2 separate regions of the Homo sapiens genome follow, and region 2 is linked to region 1. The links are contacts of gene promoters, found by promoter capture Hi-C in human tissues and cell types (Jung and others, 2019). All regions are on one chromosome and are shown on one strand. Each heading gives the region's core, a stretch centred on a gene start or on the middle of the fragment in contact. The rest is flanking DNA. Distances are from core to core; before and after follow the strand shown.

Region 1 (7,010 bases), core at 3,283-5,782:
TCACAACACAAATGTGGTGTTATGGTCTCCTGGTAGTGGCAGTAAGGAAACTGAGTTAAGGGTGGAACACTGCTCAACTGTTACCTATGGGTTTTCTAACAACAAGACTTGGTACTTTAGGAGTCTGTTTTCAGACACGTTGTATTCTCTGTCTGCAAGGAAGTTTGGTGTTTGGACTAGATGTTGGATTCCCAGTTCTCTTGTTGGGGAGCAGATTAACAGGTCATCCATGTATTGTAGGAGACACTCTCTCCTCTCAAGACTTAGGTCCTGCAAATCTCTAGCCAGGGCTTGCCCAGACCAATGGGGACTGTCTCTGAAACCCTGTTGAAGCACTGTGCAGGTGAGCTGTTGACTCCTTCCTTTTCATTCTCCCACTCAAATGCAAATAGAAATTGGGAGGATGGGTCGAGGGGGAGATACAAAAGAAAGAGTCTTTAAGGTCTAAGACTGGAAACCACTGAGCATCTGGAGGTTGGGGAAGAATTACATATGAGTTGGGGATCATTGGGTGTATTGGGACTACTGCCTCATTTATGATTCTCAGGTCCTGGACTAGCCTGTATTTTTCATTGCTCTTTTTAACAGGTAAGATGGGGTGTTATAGGGTATTAATAATCCATGTTTTTGAAATTTTTCAGTCAGAAGCTGAAATCCCTCTTTGGCCTCCAGCTGAAGAGGAAACTGCCTTCTACAAGGATAGCTAGAAGGATTCTTGGGCTGAATTACTATAGGCATTGCCATTATGGCCTTTCCTGTTATTCCTGAGGCCCAGACCTCTGGATAAATGGGAAGGTCTGTGAACAGTTCATCCTTGTGTATGGTTTCCTTGAGGCATAAGATTGCATTTGAAAAAGGGGGTGTTGGCCCTGGAGGAAAGGTTAACTGAGCCCCTAGTCTGAGCAAAATATCTCTACCCAAAAGGTATGTAGGGTATTCTGGCATCACTAAAAATGAATGAGAAAAGACGGTTTTCCCCCAGAGACAGCACAGAGGAGGAGTAAACCTCCAGGTTACGGGCACTTCATATCCTCCCAGGAGGATAATTGCCTGGGAAAAGAGGTAAGCATTGAGCAGGCAGCCCTCATGTCCAAAAGAAAACTTACAGTCCTACTGGGCACATCCAAGGCAGCCCTTGGCTCTGTCCCTTCAATAGTGTTATTTAATCCAGGAGCCAAGTGGAGCGTAGGGCCCCCTTCAGCTCAAGGAGCTGAAGGTCATCCAGTTGGGATGTCCTGAGGGCCTTTCAGCTTTCAGGGTAGTCCTGTTTCCCAGTGGCCAAGATTGTGGCAATTGGAGCATGGAGAGCTGGGGGTGGGTGTCCCCATCAGTTTGGGCACTGCCTTCTTGTGTGGCCTGGCTCCCCACAGAAGTAGCATTTGGGCAAAGGGATCTCCCTGGGGCCTGCCAGAGGTGGCTGGCAGGTTTGCAGGGCAGTCAGTAGTTGGAGCTGTTGCTTTTCCTTTTGCCTCTCCTTTTCTTGAGCCCTTTCCTACTCCTCCTGGTTTTGGTTGTAAAAGACCAAGGAACCTACTTTGCAGATGTCAGGCATAGGGGTACTGGGATCCAGTGCTAGTTTCTGGTGTTTCCTCCTAATATCTGGTGTTGTTTGAGTTAGGGAAATGATCCTTTATGAACAGTTGTCCTTCTAGTGGGTCTGGGTCTAGGTTAGTGTGTTTCACTAGGGCCTCTTCTAGCCTGTCTAAGAAAATGGTGAGGTTTTCATAAGGCCCTTGATCTGTCAAGCCCAATTTATTACAGTTCACAGGCTTTGCTCTGCTAGCTTTCATTCCTTCTATCAGATAGAGGAACATGTGGGTCCTTGCTCATGTACTCCCCTGGATATTGTAATCCCAATTGGGGTTGACCTGGGGAACTATGGTGGCCCCCACAGGGTAGCCACCAGTGTCAGGCATGTGCATTGTGTTTGCAAATTGTTGGACCGCCACCATAATGGAGTCACATTCTCCCTTAGGCAGAGTTTGCCCTAGTATGACTGAGAGGTCCCTCCTGGTGAGTTCAGATGTTAAGCCCAGTTTATAAAACACTTTGATATATTTGTCAGGGTCCTCCATAAACTTCCCTAGTTCCATTTTAATTTGGCTCAGGTCTTGCACAGTGAATGGAGTCTGGACTCCAGTGGGTCCACTGGGACCACTAAACCTCCTGAATGGGGCATAACTTAAGGAGGTGGTGTCCAGAGGATGGCCCTGGGTAGGGAGGAGAAGGCTTCTGGGAGACTTCGATATAATTGGGTAGAAGGGGCAATGGGGCTTGAGCTCTGGGTAAACCTGATGAGGGGCCTTCTGAACCAATGGGAAGGGGCTGCATGACTATGGCCATGGATCTGTTTTACAAGCCCAACAAAGGTCAGGGTTGTTTCTTAGGGCCATGAAGGCCAGCACATAGGGGATTTCTGTCCATTTTCCCTGGTGGTAGCAAAACAAATCTAGTTGATGGATCATATTTAAATTTGTGCTTCTATTTTCTGGCCAAGATTCCTGGTCCTAGAGCTTTTATTCAACCCAGGCTGTATTACAGAAAAATATTAGCCTTTTCCTTTTTAGGGTTTGGGAGTCAAACTTTTCCCAGTTCTTGAGGATGTATCCTAGTAGTGTGTCCTGTGGTACAGAGACTTGATTACCTGTCCACAGAGAGAACAGAGGAGAGAAGAGAAAAAGAAGGCAACCCCTCCAATTTCCCTACTGTCTTTTTCCTGAACTTACAGCAGACCAGAGTGGGTAGGGCATTACCCCATTCATCCATTTTTCCTTTGCGTATGGCAGTGTCCCCCATTCATTCTAGGGGTTCCAGAATGAACCAGTGCTTACCAGGTACCCCTAACCTTGGTCCCATCTTGTTTTATTGAGGCACAATTACCCGTTTGTAAAGAAAGAACAGAGGCGAGAAGAGGGCATCTCCCCTTGTTCTCTTAATCCTGTGCCTATGGCAGACTACAGTGAACAGGGTGCCCTCCCACTCATCCAAGGGGTTCTGGAATGAACCCAGTGTTTACTGGGTACCCCTACCCTGATCCCATCCCATTTCTGGACCAGCCTTCATCTGTGTTGCAGTGGTAATCTGTTTTGTGTTTGTAGCCTGGAACTAGTCTTCATCTCTGTTCTATGGGTACTTTGGTCTCTTGCATCTGCCTCCTTGGGCTGTCCTATATCCTTGTCTCCATGACCTTATAGTGACCCTTGTTCAGAGCATTCTAGCAACAGAATGATTATCTCTTCTCAGATTCTCATTTCCCATGTTCTTTAAGAAGACGAGAAGCCTGTTTTTCTGCCAATTGCTGCAAGGGGGCTGGACTTCTCTCCCTTCAAATATAACTTTGAAGGTCCTGATACATATTGAGAAGGGCCTGGAGGTGATTAGAGGAATGGAGGAAAATTTGTATTTGGGATTCTTCATCCTCCCAGGGTAACATGCAGAACAAATGCTTAACGAGGTAGAACAATCCCTCTGCTACAGGAGAAAGCGGGAGGAAGCAAGAGGAATACTCATGGAAAGCCTTCATATGTTTGCAGAAACAGCAGCCCTTGGATTTGAGAGGGCAACGTTTATTTGCCCTCTTGATATAAAGGAGGAACCTCTGGAGGACTTGGTGTTTGGGATAAGACCCTGCAAACGGCAGAGAATTTTCCTTCCCCACAAAGGGGTGCTAACTCAGAAAAAAAGCGAGTGGGTGGGGTCCTTAAGGGCTACAGAGTGAGGTCCTATGCAAGCAAGCAAACCATTCAAAAGCCAGGGAGAAACATGGCCCTGGAGCATAACAGGGATGAAAAGCATATGGTAAGTCATAAGGAGCTGACAGAGCTAAGGTTCTGATTAGTGTCTATCCCGGCAGTGAGCCAACAGACAGGGAAAGGGTTGGAGGTCATCCGAGCTGGTAGGGTAACAAGTATAAATATCAAGGGACATCCGTAAGGGAGTCCATCTCTTGGTTGCCAGGCTAACACAGCAAGAGCTGCGGGTGCATGAATAACAAATAGGGAATGTGTGTTTAAGGCAGAGAAGAAAGTTGCAGGGCATGCAAAGTAAGAACAGAGAAAAGACAGACTTACCCCCAAGGCAGTTGGTCCAATGGGTGTGCGAGGTCATTTTGGAATACATACAGAGAAAGGAAAATAGGTGGTGGTGGGTTTTTGGGAAAGAGCTGATTTTAGTTGAAAAAGCAGAGGAAACCCCAGATACTACATGGTTGTAGGTTTTAGCCCTACCGCTCTCATCAGCCTCCTGTCTGGGGGGGCCATTAGTGTCTCAGGTCTACTTAGTGCAGACTCCAAGGTCCTTCCCACCCCTGCAAGCCATCCTTCGGGGTGAGCAGAGAGAGCAGCCAGGGGGAGCAGAGCCACTGTGGTTGAGAGGAATCGTTCCAGGGGTAGGTTAGTAAGCAGGAGAGTGAAAGAGGAGAACGAAACCACGTACGAGGGTTGAACGCCTCCAGCCGAAGAAGGCAAGGCGTAGAGGTGTCTTACCACTAGGGAAGGTATCCGAGTCACTGCACCATTTGAGAGATCCAAGTGCCCTGTTCAGCCCTTGACTTGGGGTTTTATACATCGGCATGGTTCCGGGGTTTCCATTTCTCCTCCTTGGATTTTTTTCCTTGGGGTGGGCTGTCTGCTGTGCAGTGGCCTGTCAGCACTTGGGAGGAGCCACATGTGCATTTGTTTACTGAAGTTGTGCGCATGCTTTCTTGAGACATTTTTCCCTTATCAGTCAGGTGTTCCTAGAGGAAGGTCACATACTGGTTAAACTGTCATTTTGCTTCTTAGTGCGCATGCTTGAGCCCACTTGCCCAGCTTCGGAGATCTTATCAGGAAGTTGCTGATCACCAGCTTCCGGTGTTTCCTGTCTTTTGGGAGACTGTCTTTCCCTGGTACTGGCTGCAACCCATTATTATTATTTTAGAGAAACAGTGTAACAACCGCCTGATCATCACCTGATGGTCGCCTGACATTCCTGAGCTGGGGGCCCTCTCCTGCCCTGCTCATGTCTGCCTGACTACCTACTCTAACAGAACCAGCTTAACCTAATGGCCTCCTGATAGAACTGCTTGCTTTTTTTTTTTTGGAGACAGCCTCGCTCTGTCTCCCAGGCTGGAGTGCAGTGATGCAATCTTGGCTCACTGCAACCTCCACCTCCCGGGTTCAAGTGATTCTTGTGCCTCAGACTCCTGAATAGCTGGAATTAACAGGTGTGCACCACCATGCCCAGCTAATTTTTGTATTTTTAGTAGAGACAAGATTTCACCATGGTGGCCAGGCTGATCTTGAACTCCTGACCTCAAGTGATCTGCTGTCCTTGGCCTCCCAAAGTGCTGGGATTACAGGCATGAACCACCACACCTGGCCCAAACTGCTTTCCATAAACATAAATTTACCTTTCTAATGTAAATCAAATCACACAACATGCTTTTTGTGTTTGACTTCTTTCTGCTAGCATAATGCTTTTGAAATCTATTTGTGTTGTGTATATCAGTAATACATTCTTTTGTATTGCTGAAAGAGTATTCCATTGTATAGATATACCACAATTTGTTTATCCATTTACTCATTGATGGACATGAGAGTGGTTTCCAGCTTTTGGCTGTTAGTATTATTATTGTTTTATTTATTTATTTTTTTGAGATGGGGTCTTGCTCTGTCGCCCAAGCTGGAGTGCAGTGGTATGATCTTGGCTCACTGCAACCTTTGCCTCCTGGGTTCAAGCAATTCTCCTGCCTCAGCCTCCCAAGTAGCTGGGATTATAGGCACCTGCCACCATGCCTGGCTAATTTATTTTATTTTATTATATATTTTTTTGTATTTTTAGTAGAGACGGGGTTTCACCATGTTGGCCAGGCTGGTTTCGAACTCCTGACCTCAAGTAATCCACCCGCCTGGGCCTCCCAAAGTGTTGGGATTACAGGCGTGAGCCTGTAGTAGTAGTATTAGTAGTTAGTAGTATTATTAACATTCAGTTGCAAATCTTGGTGTAGACATATGTTTTCATTTCTCTTGAGTAACTTCATTTCTCTTGAGAAACTGCCAAACATTTGCATTGCCAGCAGTCATGAGTGAGAATTTGTTACTCCGCATCCATCACCAACATTTGATGGTATTGTCTGTTTTTAATTTAGCCATTCTAGAGGATGGGTATTATGCTTTTGATTTTTGTTTCATTAATGACTAATTATTTTCAGCATCTTTTATGTGTTATTTGCCATTCTTTCTACCTTCTGTGTAAATCATCTTTACAAGTTTTTTCTACTCATTTAAAAAATTGTGTTACTTTTATCAAGTTGTAAACAATTCTTTATTCTGGATACAAGTTTTTTTTGTTTGTTTTTATCAGATATGTTTTGCAAGTATTTTCTTCTATTCTGTAGCTTGCCTTTTTATTTTTATTTTTTTGAGATGGAGTCTTGCTTTGTTGCCCAGGCTGGAGTACAGTGGCACAATCTTGGCTCACTGCAGCCCCCGCCTCCTGGGTTCAAAAGGTTGCCCTGTTTCAGTCTCCCCAGTAGCTGGGAATTACAGGCATGTGCCACCATACCTAGCTAATTTTTGTATTTTTAGTAGAGGCAGGGTTTCACCATGTTGGCCAGGCTGGTTTCGAACTCCTGATCTCAGGTGGTCCACCCATCTCGGCCTCCCAAAGTGCTGGGATTACAGGCATGAGCCACCGCACCCGGCTGCCTTTTTATTTTTAAATGTCATTTGTTTTGTGTTGTTATTGTTTGATAAGTCCTTCTTATCAAGTTTTTAAGGTATGACATATAAAGTTATTCTTTTTGTTTTTTTTTTTTAATTTTTTTGAGACGGAATCTCACTCTGTCGCCCAGGCTGGAGTGCAATGGCGCGGTCTTGGCTCACTGCAACATCTGCCCCCAGGATTCAAGCGATTCTCCTGCCTCAGCCTCCTGAGTAGCTGGGATTACAGGTGCGCGCCACCACGCCTGGCTGATTTTTGTATTTTTAGTAGAGATGGGATTTCACCATGTTGGCCAGGCTTGTCTCAAC
Region 2 (7,010 bases), core at 2,063-4,562, 58 kb after region 1:
ACTATTTCTTATAACAGGAGCAGGGCTGTCATATCATGTCAGAGAGTAAGAGGAATTCTATGAGATTTAAGAGGCCAAGACAGTGTGGTCCAGGTGCAAACTCATGGGTGGATTGGCTTGATCAGGATAAAGCTTAGCATAGCTAGAGGGATGGATGAGTTGTAAATCTTTGCAGAAACCTCTGTGAACGTTCATCACACTTCTTCGATGCAGTCACCTTGACCTGCCATCCACCTGGATGCTTTAGGTAGTAATCTTCCTGGAATCTGGAGGTTTAACCATGTGGCTTCCCAAAGATGCCTGCAGCTACCTGACCCTGGGAGGTTTGAAGACAGTGCTCACTCAGGCCCTGCCGACAGGAAGGCTTTCCCGGCCAAATGGCCAGAGACTTTGGGAGCTTTCAAAAGAAACTCTTAGTTGCCCCAACTCTGCTCTCCTCCAGGAAAAAATTACTGTAGAAGCCAAAGATAGGCAGTTTTTGCCTTTCCTTTTCCACGTGTTTGGTATGTAATAAGTCATTCTCCTGTGAGGTTTAATTACTTTGCATCCTATAGCAAGGCTAGGCCATATAGGATATTATCATATTTCCCCCCTTGATTTCCTGAAAGCTCAGTATTATACCAAAGATGTGTTTGGAAGATTACCGAGTAGTTATTTTATCTGTGCTTATTTTAACTCAATATCTACTTAATATATCTCACGGCTTTTGCAAAAGTGAAATGCGTGAGTAGCTTAAGCTCGCCCACGTTTCCAACCCTGCTTGATCAACTGTACTTGATTCTGCTTGGTCACCCAACAATTAACACACACTTCATGCTCGATCTATGAAAACGTTGACTTAACATTATTTTAGTCAGTCAGCAGATCCCAAGAGGAAATTCTTAGATTTGGAAAATTTTTGTGTGCTTCTTTTGTTTTCAATTTCAGAATGGTGGCAATATATTTGTTAAACATTTATATGAAGCTGACTATGTGCCAGACCCTGTTCTCAATGCTTTGTAAAGTTTAATTTGTAATTTTCAGTCTTCTAACAAGTCTGTGATACAGCGACTATGATTATGCCCATTTTATTGGTGAGGAGATCAAGATCTGCAGAGAGTGAAGTAGCTCATTGAAGAGCCAGAGATGAGATTTAAACCCAGGTTCTATTACTGAGGCCAAACTCTTCTAGATGAGATTGAACTGCTGTTGTTGTTGTTTTGACTTTTCATTTGGAAATAATTCCAAATTTTCAGAAAAGCTTTGAGACTAACAATAGCACACACCCTTTACTGAGATCCACTTACTGTTAACACAGATAAAATTGCTTTTCTAAAACACGCATGCCTATATAGTCACCTTTACCCTAGAATACTTGAGTGCATCTTTGCTAAGAATAGGAATATTCTCTTACAGAACCACCGAGTATTTATCCACTTGAGTAAATTTAACATTGATTTAATTTATTCAATGGTAGTCTGTATTTCCATGATGACAGTTGACCCAATAATGCCCTTTCTTATTTCCTCTGGGATGGGATCCAGTCTAGGGCCCGACATTTGGATCTAGTTGTCATGTCTGTCTGGCCTCCTTTAATCAGAAACATTCCCACAGCCTTCCTTTATCTTTCATAACAATGACAGGCAGCAGAATAAGTTTCCCTGTGCCTTTTAAAGACAGAACAAATGTTCTTCATTGTGTTTGTCTGATGTTTCCTCACGATGAGGCGAGAAAATGAAATACTGCGTAAGTGATCCTGCATCCGTCTCAAAAAAGGTCTCATTTCTGGAGACACTGATGTCCTTCTCACCTCATTGGCGGTGTTGATTTTGATCATTCCTCCCCTCCAGGGCGTTGACTGATTTCCCCATGGTGTAAATTACTAGTTTTCCTTTGCATCTAATAAGCAGCCTGTGGGGAGCCTGAAATATGTTTCTTGCCAGGTGGAGGCACGGTCATAAGGAGCAGTGTGTGTGTGTGAGGATGGAGAGAAGCCCTTCCCTTCTAGGGGAACGTGAGGAGAGTGGAGGGTGCACTTCCTCCACCTGCAGCTGGAAAGTCTGTGCGCCTTTCAGTGATGAAGCTTACAGATGGATGTTGCAGGGCTTTGGGTAGGGCCTGGACCAGGCTCCAGGTAGAGTATTTCGGGCTTGGATGTTTTCAGGCACCAATAAGTCAAGCTTGCATTGATGATATTACAAAGTGGCAGAGGTGCCTCCTGAATGAAAAAGAAATGGAATCCTAACCCTGACTTCTGTCTTTGAGGGTCAAACATATAAAAACATGTCTGATGCCGGATTTCTGGGAAGGGCATTGGTTTCTGGAGGGGAGATTGATAATGGCAGAGATGGAAGTCTGGGCCAGTTTCACACCAGAGGCAGGGGGAAGTTGCAAGGAAAGATTGATTTAGGGTGTGAAATTGCCAACAGATGAAGTTGTTCCACCTGGCACCCTGGTGGTGGATGTATATGGAAGAAAACTTGCTATGAGCCGCAGTTCTGGAGCCCCTCCCTTTCTACTGTGGAACATATTGGCTCAGCACACGGAGGAGCAGAGCCCATGCTTCTTTATACATTCAGAGAGCATCAGAGCTCTCACATGTGGCTAATCACATGTAATCAAAGATAGTAGCTAAAGGCTGGGCGCAGTGACTCATGCCTGTAATCCCAGCACTTTGGGAGGCTGAGGTGGGCGGATCACTTGAGGTCAGAAGTTTGAGACCAGCCTGGCCAACATAGTGAAACCCTGTCTCTACCAAAAATATTTTTTTAAAAATTAGCTGGGTGTGGTGGTGTGCACCTGTAGTCCCAGCTACTTGGGAAGCTGAGGCAAGAGAATCGCTTGAACCCTGGAGGCAGAGGTTGCAGTGAGCCAAGATCGTGCCACTGTACTCCAGTCTGGGCGACAGAGTGAGACTCCATCTCAGGAAAAAAAAAAAAAAAAAAGATAGTAGCTAAAAAAGAGAGGATGAGGAATAATTTTGAGGAATAATTTAGGTAGAAAAGATGGTATGGAGAGAAAATGTAAAACCCAGATGGACCCATAAGTTACTAGTTACTGATATTGGGCATCAAATTTGTCTCTGACCTTTACAGTAAAGGAAAACATGATCAGTTAATTGCAAAAATCTTGTTTCCATGAGAAAAAGCATATCAATTACTCAGGACAAATGAAATATCCCCTGATGCTTAAATATGAATACGTTTGCCTATAATTTGCTCATTGATCATAAAACTTTTCTTTTGTTTCGCCTTCTGTCCATTTTCTCTATAATTGTTGTTTTGCTTGCTGGTGCAATGGTTGAAAGGCCTATAGATGCTGTAAGTGCTGAAGATCTGAGGATGAGGATCTGAGGATGAGGATGGGATGTACTGAAAGTGTTGGGTCATGTTGACAGAGAGCATGGGGTGATTAACGTCACAGTCATCCCAAACCATGGATTCTAAATCTAGGGACAGGTTTTGGCCTGGTTACAGCAACTTTGCAAAGGAGTATATTGCAGCTGAGATCACCCGGGGAACTATGAAACAAGCAATAAAACAAAAGATCTTCAAGGAACACTGAGAAGGGGACTTGTAGGGATCTGCTGTGCAGCGCAAATCCAACCTCAGGAGCTTACAGCAGAGAAATCACATAGACATTCAACGAGAACAACCAAAGTTACTAAAGTAATTGTGGAAAAAGGTTATATAAAGGGGAAACAATACAACAGTAACTCATGGGCACTACATCCTGCCTTTTGAAGGAATTTTATTTTTAGTTATTGTTAAGGATCCTGCAATGTTCTTTTTCCTTTAAAGGGCTCCTCCAAGCCAGGCGTGGTGGCTCACGCCTGTAATGCCAGCACTTTGGGAGGCCGAGGCAGGCGGATCACTTGAGGTCAGGAGTTCAAGACCAGCCTGGCCAACATGGTGAAACCCCGTCTCTACTAAAAATACAAAAATCAGGGGGACGTGGTGGCAGGAGCCTGTAATCCAAGCTACTCGGGAGGCTAAAGCAGTGAGGAGGCACAAGTTGCGGTGAGCCGAGATGGCGCTGAGAGGTGACAGCCTGCTGGCAGCCCTCACAGCCCTCGCTCACTCTCAGCACCTCCTCGGCCTTGGCGCCCACTTCGGCGGCACTCGAGGAGCCCTTCAGCCCACCGCTGCACTGTGGGAGCCCCTTCCTGGGCTAGCCGAGGCGGGAGCCGGCTCCCTTAGCTTGCAGGGAGGTGTGGAGGGAGAGGGGCGGGCGGGAACCGGGGCTGCGCGCGGTGCTTGCGGGCCAGCGTGAGTTCCGGGTGGGTGTGGGCTCGGTGGGCCCCGCACTCGGAGCGGCCTGCCAGCCCCGGGCAATGAGGGGCTCAGCACCCGGGCCAGCGGCTGCGGAGGGTGTGCTGGGTCCCCCAGCAGTGCTGGCCCACCGGCGCTGTTCTCGATTTCTCGCCGGGCCTTAGCTGCCTCCCTGCGGGGCAGGGCTCGGGACCTGCAGCCTGCCATGCCTGAGCCTCTCCCCCACGCCCGTGAGCTCCTGTGCGGCCGAGCCTCCCCGACGAGCGGCGCCCCTGCTCCACGGCGCCCAGTCCCATCGACCACCCAAGGGCTGAGGAGTGCGCGCACACCGCACGGGACTGGCAGGTAGCTCCACCTGCGGCCCCGTGCGGGATCCACTGGGTGACGCCAGCTGGGCTCCTGAGTCTGGGCGGGACTTGGAGAACCTTTATGTCTAGCTAAGGGATTGTAAATACACCAATCGGCACTCTGTATCTAGCTACTCTTGTGGGGACTTGGAGAACCTTTGTGTCCACACTCTGTATCTAGCTAATCTAGTGGGGAGGTGGAGAACCTTTGTGTCTAGCTCAGGGATTGTAAACGCACCAATCAGCGCCCTGTCAAAACAGACCACTCGGCTCTCTGTAAAATGGACCAATCAGCAGGATGTGGGTGTGGCCAGATAAGAGAATAAAAGCAGGCTGCCTGCACCAGCAGTGGTAACCCGCTCGGGTACTTTTCTGTACGGGTGTCTTTCCACGCTGTGGAAGCTTTGTTCTTTTGCTTTTTGCAGTGAAGTTTGCTACTGCTCAGTCTTTGGGTCCACACTGCCTTTATGAGCTATAACACTCACTGTGAAGGTCTGCAGCTTCACTCCTGAAACCAGCAAGACCACGAACCTACTGGGAGGAACGAGCAACTCCAGACGGGCAGCCTTAAGAGCTGTAACACTCACTGCGAAGGTCCACAGCTTCACTCATGCGCCAGTGAGACCACAAACCCCACCAGAGGGAAGAAGCTCTGAACACATCCGAACATCAGAAGGAACAAATTCCAGACACGCTGCCTTTAAGAACTGTAACACTCACCGCGAGGATCCGCGGCTTCATTTTTGAAGTCAGTGAGACCAAGAACCCACCAATTCCGGACACAGCTCCACTGCAGTCCAGTCTTGAGTGTCTGAGGCAGACTCCGTTTAAAAAAAAAAAAAAAGGATCCTCCAATGTGGGATGGGGGTGGAGGAGCTTGGAGGTGGATTCATTCCTTTGGGTTCAGTTAGCCAGTCAACAAACATGAATTGAACTCTTTGTGTTAGTTAGGTAGTGAGATGGGAAAGATGAACTCATGGTCCAAGATGCCCTGTGTCTGAAATATACAAGAGGCTAGGGAGATGTGCAGCAAGGAAGTAATCGTACTGCTACGTGGTTGTGGAGCGCTTAAGAATTATTTTGAATGCTTATTTTCACAACAGCGAATCAGGTCTGCACTAGCATTCCTATTTCCCAGGCACGTTAGAGATGAAATCGGTTGTAAAAACCAATTGTCCTCCACCTTTCATTTCCCATCAGACCACAAGGGGGCGCCGTGCGAGGCGAACACAGCCTTAGATCTGCAAAATGCTGGTCGCTGCGTGAGGGGCTTCAAAACATCCTAGGTGGTGCCCAAAGACCTTGTTGCCTGAGCTGAATAGGTGCTAGCTATTTGCACTGTCAGCGCTCTAAAGGATTTCTGGGGGCCCCCTTTCAACGGGAAGCCACCTGGTACGTGTAAACACCCACAAGTTCACTCCCCTTTGCAAGGGGCAGAGGACCTAGTAACTTTTCTCTAGAGCGCTCTCCTCTGCATACAGGTCCCTACATGTCCCCTTCTCAGTGCTCTTTGCAGATCTTTTGTTTTCTTGCTTGTTGATTTTTCTTTTGCAAACAGGATTGGGGGACCCATTATTTATCCAAAACCTTCTTTTGTCAAATCGTAGGTCCTTTCCAGTGTAGACTGGATGTCTAGACAGAGAGGTAGAAATAATTGCCCAAGGGCAAGGACAGCCTTCACTAAGTTGTCCATTTACATCTTTACATCATTCTAAAAATACACCCACACCAGCCCTTTGTCTTGATATTTTAACATTGGGCAAGGCTGAAATAAGTTACTTCTCTGACCACTGTTTAAAATGTCTCATTCACAACCATTGTTCTTGGAGACTTCAACTTCTTTAATAGGAATTTAAGTCACAAAGGGCCCAGATGGTTCTGAAAAAAAAACCCGTTAGGCTGCCTGGGTCATAAAGAAGGCTCATAAACTGCGCTTGGATGATGACTGGGTGAGGGGCTGTGTGGGGGATAGACAATGTCTGGTGTCTGGTGGTCTCCTGACTGCCAGGCAGGCCAGAGAAAATTAGGGGTATGTTTTCATTTAACATCATTCCCTGCTGACTCTTGTCTCTCTGGAAAATTGACAGTTAGGAGACAAAGTAAGGTGCCCTTTTTGTTAACTCAGTTTTCTTAATTATAGTTGTTGGGAGATGACTTAAATCATGCTGTGAGGTATGGTGGTGGTTCCTGCCCCTCAATGCCCCCTCCCAGGCTGCAGAGGAATTTGCTTTAGAGATTGGTAATAGTTGAGTCTGAGATGAAGGTCAGTCAGTGTGCTGAAGCTTTTCAGTTGCCCTTGTAGAGGTTTCTCCCCCTGCAGGCTGGCCTCTACTCATTAAAACCTTTTCTTTCTTTCTTTGTTTCTTTCCTTCCTTCTTTCTTTTCCTTTTTCTTTCTTTCTTTCTTTCTTTTC

Evidence for each region. Contacts are between HindIII fragments. The study calls those that stand out against the background at their distance.
Region 2: a contact is called between a fragment that was not itself captured here and the fragment with the promoter of ERVFRD-1 in region 1, in 2 of the 25 tissues and cell types used here (adrenal gland and spleen).

What each region holds. Positions count from the first base shown.
Region 1 is chr6:11,107,193-11,114,202 of GRCh38, forward strand. ERVFRD-1 (endogenous retrovirus group FRD member 1, envelope) reads right to left here and starts at 4,533. Exons shown (of 2, transcript NM_207582.3): 1 at 4,485-4,533. All of the region lies in intron 1 of SMIM13 (small integral membrane protein 13), which reads left to right. The HindIII fragment of the contact is 12,472 bases long and covers 1-7,010 here.
Region 2 is chr6:11,166,878-11,173,887 of GRCh38, forward strand. No RefSeq gene overlaps it. Among named protein-coding and RNA genes, the nearest start is that of ERVFRD-1, 59 kb to the left of the region's middle. RefSeq lists an enhancer at 5,679-5,973. The HindIII fragment of the contact is 5,253 bases long and covers 687-5,939 here.